Regions from separate parts of the Homo sapiens genome. Here regions 1 and 2 are each linked to region 3. Evidence: promoter capture Hi-C in human tissues and cell types (Jung and others, 2019). All regions are on one chromosome and are shown on one strand. Each heading gives the region's core, a stretch centred on a gene start or on the middle of the fragment in contact. The rest is flanking DNA. Distances are from core to core; before and after follow the strand shown.

Region 1 (3,127 bases), core at 455-2,954, 550 kb after region 3:
GTGTTCTCATTGCTCATTTCCCACCTATGAGTGAGAACATCTAGCGTCTGGTTTTCTGTCCTTGCGACAGTTTGCTCAGAATGATGGTTTCCACCTGCATCCATGTCCCTACAAAGGACATGAACTCATCCTTTTTATGGCTGCATAGTATTACAAGGTGTATATGTGCCACATTTTCTTAATCCAGTCTATCATTGATGACATTTGGGTTGGTTCCAGGTCTTTGCTATTGTGAATAGTGCCACAATAAACACACATGTGCATGTGTCTGTATAGCAGCATGATTTATAATCCTTTGGGTATATACCCAGTAATGGGATGGCTCGGTCAAATGGTATTTCTAGTTCTAGATCCCTGAGGAATTGCCACACTGACTTCCACAATGGTTGAACTAGTTTACAGTCCCACCAACAGTGTAAAAGTGTTCCTATTTCTCCACATCCTCTCCATCACCCGTTGTTTCCTGACTTTTTAATGATCGCCATTCTAACTGGTGTGAGATGGTATTTCATTGTGATTTCGATTTGCATTTCTCTGATGGCCAGTGATGATGAGCATTTTCTCATGTGTCTGTTGGCTGCATAAATGTCTTCTTTTGAGGAGTGTCTGTTCATATCCTTTGCCCACTTTTTGATGGGGTTGTTTGATTTTTTTCTTGTAAATTTGTTTAAGTACTTTGTAGATTCTGGATATTAGCCCTTTGTCAGAAGGGTAGATTATAAAAATTTTCTCCCATTCTGTAGGTTGCCTCTTCACTCTGATGGTGGTTTCTTTTGCTGTGCAGAAGCTCTTTAGTTTAATTAGATCCCATTAGTCTATTCTGGCTTTTGTTGCCATTGCCATTGGTGTTTTAGTCATGAAGTCCTTGCCCATGCCTATGTCCTGAATGGTATTGCCTAGGTTTTCTTCTAGGATTTCTATGGTTTTAGGTCTAACATTTAAGTCTTTAATCCATCATAAATTAATTTTTGTATAAGTTGTAAGGAAGGGATCCAGTTTCAGCTTTCTATACGTGGCTAGCCAGTTTTCCCAGCACCATTGATTAAATAGGGAATTCTTTCCCCATTTCTTGTTTTTGTTCCGTTTGTCAAAGATCAGATGGTTTTAGATGTGTGGTATTCTTTCTGAGGGCTCTGTTCTGTTCCATTGGTCTATATCTCTGTGTTAGTGCCAGTATCATGCTGTTTTGATTACTATAGCCTTGTAGTATAGTTTGAAGTCAGGTAGTGTGATGCTGCCAGCTTTGTTCTTTTGGCTTAGGATGGTCATGGCAATGTGGGCTCTTTTTTGGTTCCATATGAAGTTTAACATAGTTTTTTTCAATTCTGTAAAGAAAGTCATTGGTAGCTTGAAGGGGATGGCATTGAATCTATAAATTACCTTGGGCAGTATGGCCATTTTCACGATATTGATTCTTCCTATCCATGAGCATGGAATGTTCTTTCATTTGTTTATGTCCTCTTTTATTTCGTTGAGCAGTGGTTTGTAGTTCTCCTTGAAGAGGTCCTTCACATCCCTTGTAAGTTGGATTCCTAGGTATTTTATTCTCTTTGTAGTAATTATGAATGGGAGTTCACTCATGATTTGGCTCTCTGTTTGTCTGTTATTGGTGTATAGGAATGCTTGTGATTTTTGCACATTGATTTTGTACCCTGAGACTTTGCTGAAGTTGCTTATCAGCTTAAGGAGATTTTGGGCTGAGACAATGGGGTTTTTCTATGTATACAATCATGTCATCTGCAAACAGGGACAATTTGACTTCCTATTTTCCTAATTGAATACCCTTTATTTCTTTCTCCTGCCTGATTGCCCTGGCCAGAACATCCAACACTATGTTGAATAGGAGTGGTGAGAGAGGGCATCCCTGTCTTGTGCCAGTTTTCAAAGGGAATGCTTCCAGTTTTTGCCCATTCAGTATGATATTGGCTCTGGGTTTGTCAGAAACAGCTCTTATTATTTTGAGATATGTCTCATCTATACCTAGTTTATTGAGAGTTTTTAGCATGAAGGGCTGTTGAATTTTCTCGAAGGCCTTTTCTGCATCTATTGAGATAATCATGTGGTTTTTGTCTTGGTTCTGTTTATATGAGGGGTTACGTTTACTGATTTGCGTATGTTGAACCAGCCTTCCATCCCAGGGATGAAGCCCACTTGATCGTAGTGGATAAGCTTTTAGATGTGCTGCTGGATTCAGTTTACCAGTATTTATTGAGAATTTTTGCATCGATGTTCATCAGGGATATTGGTCTAAAATTCTCTTTTTTTATTGTGTCTCTGCCTGGCTTTGGTATCAGAATGATGCTGGCTTCATACAATGAGTTAGGGAGGATTCCCTCTTTTTCTATTGATTGGAATAGTTTCAGAAGGAATGGTACCAGTTCATCTTTGTACCTCTGGTAGAATTCGGCTGTGAATCCATCTGGTCCTGGACTTTTTTTGGTTGGTAGGCTATTAATTATTGCCTCAATTTCAGAGCCTGTTATTGGTCTATTCAGGGATTCAACTTCTTCCTGGTTTAGTCTTCGGAAGGTGTATGTGTCCAGGAATTTATCCATTTCTTTCGGATTTTCTAGTTTATTTGCATAGAGGTCTTTATAGTATTCTCTGATGGTAGTTTGTATTTCCTTGGGTTTGGTGGTGACATCCACTTTCTCATTTTTTATTGCGTCTATTTGATTCTTCTCTCTTTTCTTCTTTATTAGTCTTGCTAGCGATCTATCAATTTTGTTGATCTTTAAAAAAAAAAAAAAAAAACCAGCTCCTGGATTCACTGATTTTTTGAAGGGTTTTTTGTGTCTCTACCTCCTTCAGTTCTGCTCTGATCTTAGTTATTTCTTGCCTTCTGCTAGCTTTTGAGTGTGTTTGCTCTTGTTTCTCTAGTTCTTTTAGTTGTGATGTTAGGGTGTCAATTTTAGATCTTTCCTGCTTTCTCTTGTGGGCATTTAGTGCTATAAATTTCCCTCTACACACTCTTTTAAGTGTGTCCCAGAGATTCTGGTACATTGTTTCTTTGTTCTTATTGGTTTCAAAGAACATGTTTATTTCTGCCTTCATTTCGTTATGCATCCAGTAGTCATTCAGGAGCAGGTTGTTCAGTTTCCATGTAGGTGAGAGGTTTTGAGTGAGT
Region 2 (2,740 bases), core at 18-2,517, 580 kb after region 3:
TCACCCAGCACTGCCATGGTGGATTTTGAAAGTAGACACATTGGCTCATATCCCAGAAGGTTAACATTTTCTAATAGGATTCCTTAGGCAATTAAGAGATACTGTCATCTGTAAATACTAAGATTCTGGATTACAAAACAAAAATCAGAAATTTTCTTCATCTGATGCCCCTGATACAAGCAGCAGAACTTCCAGATTTACCATGAATTGTAATCACAGCATTTCTAGCAATAGTCACACTTACAGGCTGAAGCAGGAATGTCTGATGGGTCTTCATTAAATCTCTTGGGAGGCAACAGCACATCCTCCTGAGAGCTTTAACCTTAAGCATTTCCCAGTCTTAGCTGTTACAAATCCTTCTATGTTGGCTATCGCTGTGGCTTTGAAAAATTTACTCACAAAGAAAGGTAGCGTATTTATTTCTCTATTTTTGATCTGATTTTTGTCAACAGCACACTTGCCAGATTCTTCTTTAAAGCTACTCAGTAAATTGTAGTCCAATAAATAATAGCTCCTTTGGACAAGTTCTCTATTTCTGATATTTCTGCTCCTTTTTTGGCTGTTCTCCAAGAAAGTATTCAGGTGTTCTGTGAGGCTTATGCTGCTACACAACCTGCAGCTCATCCAATCGATAGTCTGATTCTTCTCAACTTAGACAGACTTGCACTTCTCAATAAACCTGATCTCACTTCGGTTCCCACCAGCACTGCCAAACACTTAGTCCCTGAATGACCCTCTATTCCACTATGGCAAAAGCTGTCTATTCTGCAGCTTCTTCTGCAAAGTCATCTCATCCCTCACTATAGATAGGTGTCATGTCTGGGACATGTAGTTATGCTCATGCCACACTAGAACAAAGGACAGTTCTGGAAGTCAAGTCTGGCCTTTTCTTGGCCTTTCTTTTTTCTTTTCTTTTTTTTTTTTTTTTTTTTTTTTGAGACGGAGTCTCGCTCTGTCGCCCAGGCTGGAGTGCAGTGGCACAATCTCTGCTCACTGCAAGCTCCGCCTCCCAGGTTCACGCCATTCTCCTGCCTCAGCCTCCCGAGTAGCTGGGACTACAGGCGCCCACCGCCACGCCCAGCTAATTTTTTGTATTTTTAGTAGAGAAAGGGTTTCACCGTGTTAGCCAGGATGGTCTCGATCTCCTGACCTCGTGATCCGCCTGCCTCGGCCTCCCAAAGTGCTGGGATTACAGGCGTGAGCCACCACACCTGTCCTTCTTGGCCTTTCTTAATCATGATCCGCTGCCAAGTTCATTCTGAAGTATCTATGCCCCTGATGGATGCTAGGGCATCCCGAAGGGTGATTCCCTTCCATGGATCTCAAATAATAATAAGAGTAAAAGATGCCCTTCAATTTAACAAAAATGCATCCTCGTCCTGAGTCAAAGCCTGGAAAGAAGAGACTGGAACATACCTCTAATCATCTACTGGCCTCACCTGTCTTCTTTCTCCTCCCCTACAATGTAGAAGAATAGAAGAAACAAGCTTTTCCTTGACTGTTCTTTTCTGTATACCTAACACTTTCCCCAAATACCCTCAGCTTGAAGTAATGAGCTTCAGTCTTCCCATTTCATCGATTTCATCCAATTAAAATTATAGTGAGTTTTACCACTTTGCCTAAATTTAAACTTTTAACCCTCTCTATTACTTTTCCCAAACTCTATTTTTCTCTACTTATTTGTAATTTGTAAGTAAGTTGTTTTATGCCATGATATAAATCTAAACTTTTAACCTTTCTTCTGCTAAAAGCAGACATGTCTTTCAATAGAAAGACTGTTGTTTCTACACCCAGAATTTTAACTTATAAATGAATAAATAAAAGTAAAAAAGAAATGAAAGGAAATTAGCAGAGCTAAAGCCTCAGGTCTACTATGTCCCCAGCCAAACAGCAGGTACCAGTGAATAAGAGCACAGGTCTTATGGTTTAACAGAACTAGAAGTGCTGCATGTGAAATGACAAACTGAAATTCATGTTCACGTCTTCATTAATAAAAAAAAGCTGAAAAAAATGCTGTGGAAATCTTCTCAACCTACAGCTTCCTAGAAGCTGTAGGCTTGGGCAAGTGGGACACACTTGTAACTTTGACACTGAACAAAGCCTCCACAGACTTGGTTTGTATATATGAATTTATAAGATCACTAATGTAAAATATCACTAATATATTAATTTGCAATATCACTCAATACCAAGATTGAGGCAAGACCACAGCTCATTAATGAATATCTGGTTCTGAACTGGAGATCCCAGAGACTGCATGAAGGCAATCATGAAATTATTAATAAGGAAGAAGTAAGTTCAGAGGAAAGAGGAAGGAAGAAAGAGAAGAAGAGAAAGACAGGAGGTCCTAGATAGCTATCTAAAGTCTATCTAACTCTAGATAGCTATCTAAAACTTATTCAAAAATATTACAGAAGGGGGAAAAATGGAAACTTCCATGACTCAAATTACAAATTACCCCAAACTGGTGGCTTAAAACAACAAGAAATGTATTCCCTCACAGCTCTGGGACAAGAAGTCCAATTTCAATATCACCTGACCAAAATCAAGATGTCAACAGGGCCATGATCCTTCAGAAGGCTCTAGGGAAAACCAGTTCCTTGTCTCCTCTGGCAATCAGCTTCTGGTGAGTATCATCATTCCTTGGCTTGTGGCCACATCAATCCAATATTCAAAAACAGCATCTTCGAACTCTCTCTGTTAAATCTTCACATCGCCTTCTCTTCTGTGTTTGTGCACA
Region 3 (3,079 bases), core at 271-2,770:
TGCAGATGAATGTGTCCTTGCTTCAGATACAAGGTCCAGTCAGAAGCTACAAAAAATGGAGCCATGAAATAATAATGAGAATCTCCACATGAATGGCCCACCCTAGGAGCTTTCTAGACTGGAGGGGTATTGAAGCTGCACATCACCCATGTGTCTCCAGAGCTGGTAAGCAGAAACCCACAGGCTTACTGCTATTGAAAGTGTGGGAGGAAGAAATGTGACCTTCTCTGGAGGAAAGGCCAGGAGACAATGACCTTGGGAGCATCTTATTGCTCCCCTCTCTCCCCATTTCCAAAGCTCCTGCCTCATCTGATGTCCTGCAATTCCCATTAAGTGACACCAGTTCATTCTGACTCTGCCTGTGCAGAAGCCAATGGCTTATGCTCAACAAGCCCAGATATAGTCTGCAGACACCCCAGGGGACAATAAACCCAAACGGACAAGCACTCTGTTCTTTCTGTACTCCTCAACCAGCCCTGCCGGTCCCCTGCGGGAACCCAGTCTGAACCCATCAGCCTCCCTCACTGGCTTGATGTGAATCTCATTTTAAAAGGAATTTGATCAAAGGACAGAGCAGAACAGGAAAAGAGCGCCAAACGGAGACCTGTGGTCCAACCTGCCTCTACCCAAGCCAGGTTGCGTGGCCTTGGATAGGTCATGTCACCTCCTGGACCTCAGCTCCTATGGGCTAGCTGAGTTCTAAGGTCCCCACTAGCCCCATGCTCTCTGAAATGAAAGGTGCAGTGAGCAGCGGAGCTGGTTCTTGGAGCTGGCGTTCTGCAGTCACTTCTGAGACAGAACATCAAAGCCCAGCACCTGGGAGTGGAACAAAAGAAGAATGGAGGGTTTCTTTTCCTTTTCCTTTTTTCTCCCTTTCTTTTTTGTATAAGCTCTTGCAAACTTACAATGTGGTTCAGAATGTACTGTTCTCTCAGACTGCCAAAATAGCTTGAGCAGGAGCTGCGGCCTTCATTTGAGGTAGAGAGAACTCCTCATGACTTTGTTTTCATTGTTCTTGCCTTGGGAAAGCCAGCAAATGCCTTCCTCTGTGAAAGCAGCCTTCACACAAGAAAGGAAAGATTAATGAACGCTACTAGGTAAACAGAATAGCATTTACGGAACAATTCAGCCCATTGCTGCGTGTGCCAGGTGCCGGGAGCTGCATCGTTGGCCAGGCAGGACTGAGCCAGCCTAGGGCTCCCCATAACCACCAGGAGGATTAGCTGAGGGGATTCATAAAGTGAAGGGTGGCTCGCGTATACCCAGGCTACACCCATAAGAAGATATTCATGCTGCAGTTTTCCCTGAGCAGAGGATATTCAGATACCAACATGAAAAGACTTTCTGATACTTCCATACATAGGGAGACTGTCGGGGTATAGGGGGCCTTAAAGTATGCTCTGGTCACAATTGTTTATTCCAATTTACTAGTACTTTTTTAAAAGCAATTTTAGAAATAAGATTATTCTGAAAGTTTACTTACAGGTTTCTCTCAGATTCTTCTTCGAATGCAGAAATGCACTTCCCAAGGGCTGTAGGTCTTGATATATAGCAGGAAAAAGGGAACCAGAAGTGTCGAGAGGGTCACATCACCATGAATCAACCTCTTTATTTCCCCCATAAAGTGACTGAGCCATTTAATATCAACAAAGAGTAATGCTGATACAAATGAATAGCATATTTCTTTCTAGCATTTTCCTCAGAATAGATGTTCTAGAAATTAATTATAGAAAATAATGAAATCAGATATTTTCAAACACAAGAGAGTGAGTTGTGAAAGCTTGGACGGCCTCTCTCCCTCTTTTCTCTTTTGCCCTCACTCCCATACTCCCCACATCCACTCGAGCCATTGGGAAATGACAAGCATCCGCCATACCCACCTCTCATCCACACTTGAAGAGGCAGATGGTTCGTAGGAGCCGCCTCTGCACTCATGACCCCAGACAGGTCGAATAATTGGTTTCATGCCTCCCACTCATACATGTGACTTTCCATCTTAGAAATTTAGCTTCCAAGTCAAAAGGACCAGCTTGTGTAGTTTCGGAGAGTTAGGAAAGTCTCAAAATCTTTCTACAAAATTATTCTTTACTTTTTGTTGGAGACCCCTATTATACCTGCAAAAACCTTTATCTTAAAAAAAAAAAAAGGATCAGAATAGACCCTTGGGCTCAGGCTGGGCACACAGACTGCATGTCCCTCATGAGTCCTTTGTGTAAGGGGCTGACTTAGTCCTGAAGATGAAGAGAGCTGTTGAAATGAGATGTTTTCATTTGAACAGGAAGGATGGGACTGCAATGTGGGTGTCTGATTGAGTCATCCAGAAGCAGCCATGGTGGCCCCAAGGGAGGGAAGGGTCAGGGAGTGGGCAGGATCTTGAGGAAACGGCCCCAGACTTTGGTGAGTGGGAAGTCACTGGTGTTTCTGGAAGAGCCATTTAGGCAGGGGCCTAGGGGTGGGCACCACTCTTCAGTGGGCTGGAGCGTGAACTGGAGTGGGAGGAGGGGAGGAGCAAGCCAACCGGCTGGACTGGATGGGGTTCCTTTGTAGTAGTGCTAGGGATGGAAATGGAGAGGGAGAAGGCAGCAGTAGAGAGGTAGTGGTTTGAGTTTGGGGAAAACTAGATGAAATTTAGCATATCAGCCTCACAAAGAAGAATAAAGATAAGAGAGAGATGTTGGTACTCCCTGAGGAGGGAGGGAGGAAAGCTGAGGGCAGTTGCAACTTTCTTGGGGAAGGAGGAGATGGAGCCTTCTGAGAACGGGGGATGGAGACAGAAGTTGCTGGATCATGGAGAACAAACCTGGGGGCAGCTGCAGAAGAAAGAACTGGGAAGAGGAAATGGAGGGGCTCCCAGCTCCCACAACCAAAAATGGAGTCAGTGACATGGTTTTGAGAGTCCCCAGCAATTCCCAACTTGGGAGTGAAAGAAAAAGGCTGATTTGACAATACCTATACAAATTTATAAGCTACTAGAATTAGTCATTCCAAGAATTTATCTTATATTTGCATGGTATGTGTGTGCAGTGTGTATGTGTATGTGTACGTGTGTGTACAAATCCACCATATGCCTCTCTATGCC

What was found. Contacts are between HindIII fragments. The study calls those that stand out against the background at their distance.
Region 1: a contact is called between a fragment that was not itself captured here and the fragment with the promoter of DCSTAMP in region 3, in 1 of the 25 tissues and cell types used here (dorsolateral prefrontal cortex).
Region 2: a fragment that was not itself captured here is called in contact with the fragment with the promoter of DCSTAMP in region 3 in 1 of the 25 tissues and cell types used here (H1 embryonic stem cells).

Annotation. Positions count from the first base shown.
Region 1 is chr8:103,792,265-103,795,391 of GRCh38, reverse strand. All of the region lies in intron 6 of RIMS2 (regulating synaptic membrane exocytosis 2), which reads right to left. Among named protein-coding and RNA genes, the nearest start is that of RIMS2, 290 kb to the right of the region's middle. The HindIII fragment of the contact is 7,799 bases long and covers 1-3,127 here.
Region 2 is chr8:103,757,761-103,760,500 of GRCh38, reverse strand. The region is part of intron 5 of RIMS2 (regulating synaptic membrane exocytosis 2); the gene reads right to left. Among named protein-coding and RNA genes, the nearest start is that of RIMS2, 260 kb to the right of the region's middle. The HindIII fragment of the contact is 6,148 bases long and covers 1-2,740 here.
Region 3 is chr8:104,338,267-104,341,345 of GRCh38, reverse strand. DCSTAMP (dendrocyte expressed seven transmembrane protein) reads right to left here and starts at 1,520. Exons shown (of 4, transcript NM_030788.4): 1 at 1,484-1,520. The HindIII fragment of the contact is 10,500 bases long and covers 1-3,079 here.